Linked DNA regions of Homo sapiens: region 1 is linked to region 2. Evidence: promoter capture Hi-C in 16 types of primary human blood cells and fetal thymus (Javierre and others, 2016). All regions are on one chromosome and are shown on one strand. The core of a region is centred on a gene start or on the middle of the fragment in contact, and the rest is flanking DNA. Distances in the headings are between cores, read along the strand shown.

Region 1 (3,762 bases), core at 1,023-3,522, 5.6 Mb after region 2:
TAAATTAGACACTGAAAGAACTTTTGCTCTTACAGGGTTGAAAGACATTGGGGGCAGCTAAAAACAGCATGATTTGGACTAAAACTTGGGATAGATTCTAGTTTTGGCTTCTTTATGAACTAGTTATTTGCCCTTGAGTAAATAATTTAACTTTTCTGGGATTATATCTAAAGGCAAGATTGATCTAGATCTGTAGTATCCTATATGGTAGCCACACATGGCTATTTCAGTTTAAATTTACATTTAAATTAAAAATTCACTTCCTCGTGTCACTAGCCACATATCAAGTGCTCAATAGCCACAAGTACCTACCATATTACACAGTGCAGATATAAAATATTTCCATCATTGCAGAAAGTTCTACTGCAAAGTGCTATTCTAGATGATTTCTAGGATACTCTCTATTCCTACAATTCTGTGATTCCTCAGAAGTTTGTTATGAGGATCAGAAGAATTAAATGGGTTAAGTTAAAATGTGATATTATAATGTTACTTGAAGCTTTTAATGAATGTATAATTTGCTTCTTGGTACACCTGAAGGCAAGAAGATTGCCAAGCAATGACTTTCAGCCTCATGATTCTATGACTAGACAGTATTATCTTGACAATAATTCTGAAGCCAAATTTAGCCTCAGTGGGAAAGATTAAAAACATAATGCCAAATTTCTGTTGTTCCTGGCACTTGCTCATTACTTACAAGACCTACGTACAGTTCAAAACAAAACAAGACAACTCTCCTGGGGCAGATGTAATTAGAAGGCACCAGTGTCTGTCATTTCCAATAAAAGCTAAAAGATCTGTTTAAGTGACAATAAACTACTTACCTGAGTCTGTGGTTTGCTGCAGGATTCAGCTTCCTAATTTGTTCAAATGTCAAATCACACAATCGCCCAGTCCCATCAGTCGTCCTATCTACTGTGTTATCGTGCATTAAGACAGGAATCCCGTCAGAAGTAAACTCAATGTCCAACTCCACGCCTGTTGCTCCATTCTTAGCTGCCTTAACAAAAACATCAAGAATATTACTGTCAAATGGCCACAAACATTATTTTGCATCTAACCACCCAAAAGACCAGCAGGGCTCCTAAGACAGCTGTCCTTTTTGATTCATTTTCCTTCCACTTCCCCCACCAAACAGCAATCCTGATCTGTTTCTGTTTTCTGTGTATATAACCTTACTTCAATTCCTAACTGATGGATTCCTTAAAAACTTTAATTTTCCCACTCTTCTTACTTTCACAGTGGAAGACTAGGAGACTTCAGGAACTTATGTTTTCTCTGGATGTTTAACTATATGGGTCATCAATGGCTTATGAATACTTAGACAATTCCACTGTTTACCTACACTATTTGTTGGTACAGCAGTTCTGATGATCACCCTACGGTTGTTGATTAGTCAGATATTTCACTACTTTGGCATAAATGAGTCAGGTTTTTGTTGGTTTAATTCCACCCTCTACCACAAAGACACCACGCCTGCTTCTAGGACATATCACATTTTGTTTATGTAAGCAGCACTGGCTGTTGGCCCATAAGTTGTTAAGCTTGATGAGGTAGATTAGAATTTATCTAAAAAGAGAATTTGAACCTTAAATTACACGAGCCATGCTCCTCTGGAGACACACTATTTAATGTTTGCTTCCTTGGCTTCCTCATCACAATAAAGATGTGAAATGCTCATTACGATGAAGATTTCTTTCTTTTTTTTTTTTTTTGGAGACAGGATCTGGCTCTGTTGTTCAGGCTAGAGTGCAGTGGCATGATCTCGGCTCACTAAAACCTCCGCCTCCTGGGTTCAAGCCATCCTCCCACCTCAGTCTCCCAAGTAGCCGGGACTACTGGCACGTGCCACCATGCCCAGCTAATTTTTGTATTTTTTGTAGAGATGGGGTTTCACCATGTTGTCCAGGCTGGTCTCGAACTCCTGAGATCAAGCAATCCTCCTGCCTCAGTCTCCCAAAGTGCTGGGATTACAGGTGTGAGCCACTGTGCCCAGCTATGATCAAGATTTTTAATTTTTTAAAAAATATTTTAAGTCATGGTCTATTGCAAACATCTACAGTAAAAAAGATTTAACATATGTGAATATTTTGACCTAATTTCCTCAGTCTCTTTCTGTACTAAAACAAAAACAAAAACAAAAACTATTATTTATTGAGCCTTTTCTACTTGCCAGGCACTCTTCTAAGTGCTTTAAATGTATTAACTTATTTGATCCTCACAACCCTGAAGCAGGTACTATTAATATTCTCATTTAACAGATAAGAAAACTGAGACAAAGAAAGAGTAGGAAACTTGCCCAGGGCTGCACAAGCTAGGATGCAGTAGAAGTTGCACTCTTATCCGCTTCAGTTTTACTATCAACACTACAGATACAGCTGAAATTCTCCCTTTCATTCTCCTCCTTTCCTCTCCAGAGGTAATTACCATCTTAAAGTTGGTGTATATCATTCTCATGTCACTCCCTTACCGGTTTTTATTTAAGTACCCATAAACAACACAGAGCACTGTGCTAGTGAATAGTTAAGATTTCAATAAATGTTAGCCATTGTTATTTATTATGTCCTTTTAAACACATCTTTAAAGGTAATATAGTCAAATTTATCAATAACGTCCTTTATGGGTGGAGATTTTTCTGCTTTATTTAAATCTTTTCCTTTTCCCATGTGATACAGATGTACGACTATTTTGGAAAAACACATCACATTTTCCCTCTGCTCTCACAACAATCAACCCCGACGTCTGTGACCAAAAATGTGGGGGTTTTTCCCCACCAATAAGTAGTGGACACCAGCTGGGTATCCTCCAACTCAATTTTGACACTATCTACCTGGAGATAGTGTCAGATCATAGGTTGAGGGCTTGGTCCCCAAGACTGCACCCCACCCTCCTCCAGACACAAATAGCAAGCTGGGGCCTATGGAACTTCTGACCAATTGGCTTCAAGTCCTCTTAGGTTTATTTTAGTTTTTATTTTTTTAATTCCTCTTAGGTTTTTATGGAAGCTTCATGATGTCAGCATTCCTTCCCCCAGGGTATAGGGTGGGGTCCCTCTCTGAGGAGGGTCTTAAGACTCACAATTTGAAAGACAGGGAAAGATTCCAGTCCTGCCTTGGGGTAGGTGAAAGGAGGGCAGGAGAGATTCTGTTTCCCAAGGCCTGCTCCTAAGGCCTAGGATGCCTAACAAAATACTGTAGCAAGGGCTGAGAGTTATGAGCCAGGAACCATGGATGAAAACCTATATATGTGTGTGTATGTGCATATATATATATATATATATATATACATACACAATACTTAATAGATTACAATATAGTGTAAACATAACTTTTATATGCACTGGGAAACCAAAAAATTTGTGACTCCCTTTATTACTATATTTGCTTTATTGACTATTTACTCAGGTCTGGAACTGAACTTGCAATATCTCCTATATATACTAATATGTGAATTAGAACCAGGGATTCATCTTTTTATCTCAATTACTGGAATAACATAGAAGTACTGGTAAAGCTGGCCAGGCAGTGGCTCATGCCTGTGATCCCAGCACTTTGCCTGTAATCCCAGCACTCTGTAATCCACTGAGGCAGGTGGATCACTTGAGGTCAGGAGTTTGAGACCAGCCTTGCCAACATGGCAAAACACCATCTCTACTAAAAACAAAAAACAAAAATTAGCTGGGAGTGGAGGAGTACATCTGTAATCTTAGCTACTTGGGAGCCTGAGGCACAAGAATCGCTTCAACCTGGGAGGTGGAAGTTG
Region 2 (3,424 bases), core at 82-2,581:
AACGGCTAGTGTGAATGTGAATTGGTATAGGCTTTCTAGAGGGCAATGTGGCAATGTGAATGGAATGAAAAGCCTTACAAATTTTTTTCTCTTTATCCCAGTGATTATTCATTTCTAGACGTGTATCTGAAGGCCACGGCTGAATTTACATACAAAGATGTTTAGTGAAATATTATTTATATTACTGGAAGGGAAAAAGCAGAAACAGACTAAATGTCCTCTAATAAGCAATTAGGTAAGTACACCCACATAATGGAAATCTCATCAGCCATATAAAAGGACTTTGTAAAAGAATATGAAACATCATGTTCAGAGGTTTGCCAAATGTTAATGACAAAGCTGGGGATTTAAATCAGGGATATTAATTATCTCGTGTCGGTAAAAGAACTCCGTGTGATGAGAGAATGTGTATATAGATAGAAAAAAAAGGACTAAATAAAATAGATTTCGTGATGTTAACAGTGGTTATTTCCAAGTAATGGAAACAAGTGATTTTCATTTTTGTTTACTTGTATTTTCTATTTTCTAATAACAAAGGTGGGGGGTTTCTATACAAAACAATTCCTCTACTAGTTCAACTATCAGGCATTTCTAGGTATAGAACAAACACTGCGGGAGGTGTCCCTCTAGTGGAAGGAGGGATTTTTAAAAATAGTTTATTGTATTGAAGTCTTTGGGAGGCAAACAGAGGTCTGAAGTCAGTAAATGATTCTGCTTATTCCACAGCCACTGCACTCCAGCCTGGGCAACATATCAACATCCTGTCTCGGGAAAGAAAAAAAAAATTAAAAGAAGGATGGGGAGTAATCGCAAAAGGAAGGGCCAAAAACCACCCTAGGAAACAGGTGCTACTAACTCTTGGCGCATTTGGAATATTGACCAGTAACTTTTTCAACTGTCGATGTCGGGGGATTAAGCTCCTTAGGCTTACTTCCCCTTCCCTTGCTTTTTGGCAGCTTGAGGCTAGGGTGCCAGGGGATGTGGAAACTCAAAAGAGACGTGAATGGAGCCTGATATCTGCAAGCTACACCGACAGGGGGCGCCAGCCCCTACAGGTGACTCCATGAATCTTCGGCTCCACTCGGCTCTTCTTCGGCTGAGTTCGGCCAACGCTTGCCTTCTCAGGCTCGGCTCTCTTCGGCTTTCTGAGAGCGCGCCTGTCGTGGCCTCGGCTCCTCTTCGGCTGCGTTCGGCCCACGATCATCTCAGTCTCAGCTCTCCTCGGCTACGTTCGGCTGGCTGCCGTCCTCTCGGACTCGGCTCTCTTCGGTTGAGTTCGGCCTACTCTCCACTAGGAGTCGGCTTCCTTCGGCTGCGTTCGGCTGCGACCCGGAAGAGCTTCCATGGAGTCAGGGCAGCCGGCTCGACGGATTGCCATGGCGCCGCTGCTGGAGTACGAGCGACAGCTGGTGCTGGAACTGCTCGACACTGACGGGCTAGTAGTGTGCGCCCGCGGGCTCGGCGCGGACCGGCTCCTCTACCACTTTCTCCAGCTGCACTGCCACCCAGCCTGCCTGGTGCTGGTGCTCAACACGCAGCCGGCCGAGGAGGTGCGGCCGCGCTGGCGCGGGAGTGAGGGGACTCCGAGAGTGTTGAGGGCCTCCTGAGCGGATGCGAGGCCTCTGACAGGGATGGAGGGGCTCTGAGGGGGATTCAGGCCCCTGACACTACGCGATGACACAGAGAAGGATGGCAGGGGTCCCCAGGGGGATGCAGGTCCCTCACACTGCGGGAACACAGACGTATGTAAGGGGTCGCTAGGAGGATACCGGTCGCTCACACCGTGCGGGGACACTGATAAGAATTGGAGGGGCCCCGAGAAGGCTGCAGGTCCCTGGCAGGAGTTGAAGAACACTAAGAGGAATGCCAGTCCCTGACACTGTGCGGGGACTCTGAGAGGGAAGGGAGGGGTCCCAAGAAGGATGCAAGTCTTTGACCAGAGTTCAAGAACACTAAGAGAAATGGGAGGGGTCCCCAGGGGATGCGGGTCCCTGACACTGTGCAGGCACAGTGAGAATGATGGAAGGGGTCCCGAGAAGGATGCAATTCCCTGACAACACTAAGAGGGATGGGAGGGGTCCCCAGAAGGATGCAGGTCCCTGACATGGGTGCAAGGGCACTGAAAGGTGAAGGGGCTCTGAGTGGTAGGAGAGGATCGGAGGTCGCTGCAGGGGAGGGGGAGATGTCGGAAGGAGGATCTGGATAGGAATAACGGGAGAGTCCTGAAGTTGGCCATTAAGGGAGTTTCTGGGGGCAGAAGGAAGGTCCCTGAAAGGGAACAGTGATGAGGATGGAAGATCTCTGAGGGTGATGGGGAGACATGAAAGGAGATGCTGAGGCGCTGGAAAAACCCCAATAGGGAAAAGGAGGGACCAGGAAATAGGACATTCACCAAGGCTGTGTTAAGAGGGCCATAGGGTCAGAAAGGGATTGGAGCTTGACGCTGAGGATGTTGGCAAAGGTTAACTACAGTTAAGGACAATGGAGAACACTGAGAAAGATGGAATGGGGCTACACATGGGTCTGAGGGGTGTTGAGAGGGGACACAGCTTGGTCGGACAAGTCTGATGATCCCCTAGATATATCAGGTGGCCGGGAGAAAAATGTCAGCTGAGAAGAGTGACCACAGTCTCTTTGAGGGCAGGGATCCTGTTTGATTCATCTAGGTATCCCCAGTGCTTGGCATAGGGCCTAAGGCAACACACAGGGCCTAGTAAAGATGGTTTTAAACTGGGGATATAAATAAACCAAGCCAAGGGACCCAGTGACATGAAGTCCCTCTAGGATAGATTAGCACAGAACTGATAGTCTAAAACATTGTCTGGGGAAAGGATTCCCTTGTTATCATCTCATAGAATGTGCTTGGCTACAAACCTGGCTTTGGTGGGAAGTATTTTCTAGGTAGCAGAAATCTTTTAATCCAGGCTTTTAAAAGTTTGAGGTTTTGTATGTGTGTGCATATGTTATTGTAGTTGAGTGCTGATAATGACTGAAGTGCAATTATTCCTTAGTGTAAACCCCAAAACAAGAAAACCTCATTAAATGTAGACTGGTTGGCTGAAGTTACTATAAAGAAGTAACTTAGTGTGTATATTCATTATTAAGTTCATTATCTCAGAGAAAGACAGCACATTATTTTAAATATCTGTGACCTATTAAAAACTGCCCTGTATTAAATAGCCTACTAATCAAGTTTGATTTGATTTAGGAGTATTTTATCAATCAGCTGAAGATAGAAGGAGTTGAACACCTCCCTCGCCGTGTAACAAATGAAATCACAAGCAACAGTCGCTATGAAGTTTACACACAAGGTGGTGTTATATTTGCGACAAGTAGGATACTTGTGGTTGACTTCTTGACTGATAGAATACCTTCAGATTTAATTACTGGTAAGAATTTGAAATCTTATTATTAGTATGTAAAT

What was found. Contacts are between HindIII fragments. The CHiCAGO score rates a contact against its expected background, and 5 or more counts as called.
Region 1: a fragment that was not itself captured here is called in contact with the fragment with the promoter of ERCC4 in region 2 in 1 of 17 cell types (activated CD4 T cells); the score reaches 5.1 in activated CD4 T cells.

The regions. Positions count from the first base shown.
Region 1 is chr16:19,516,190-19,519,951 of GRCh38, forward strand. GDE1 (glycerophosphodiester phosphodiesterase 1) reads right to left here. Exons shown (of 6, transcript NM_016641.4): 2 at 825-1,000. Among named protein-coding and RNA genes, the nearest start is that of GDE1, 4.0 kb to the right of the region's middle. The HindIII fragment of the contact is 1,461 bases long and covers 1,543-3,003 here.
Region 2 is chr16:13,918,823-13,922,246 of GRCh38, forward strand. It overlaps ERCC4 (ERCC excision repair 4, endonuclease catalytic subunit), which reads left to right and starts at 1,332. Exons shown (of 11, transcript NM_005236.3): 1 at 1,332-1,550; 2 at 3,209-3,389. The coding sequence starts at 1,344. All of the region lies in intron 1 of LOC105371093 (a long non-coding RNA gene), which reads right to left. It overlaps LOC124903647 (a long non-coding RNA gene), which reads right to left and starts at 1,256. Exons shown (of 2, transcript XR_007065001.1): 1 at 857-1,256; 2 at 643-761. RefSeq lists enhancers at 916-965, 1,176-1,535, 1,576-1,785. The HindIII fragment of the contact is 6,939 bases long and covers 1-3,424 here.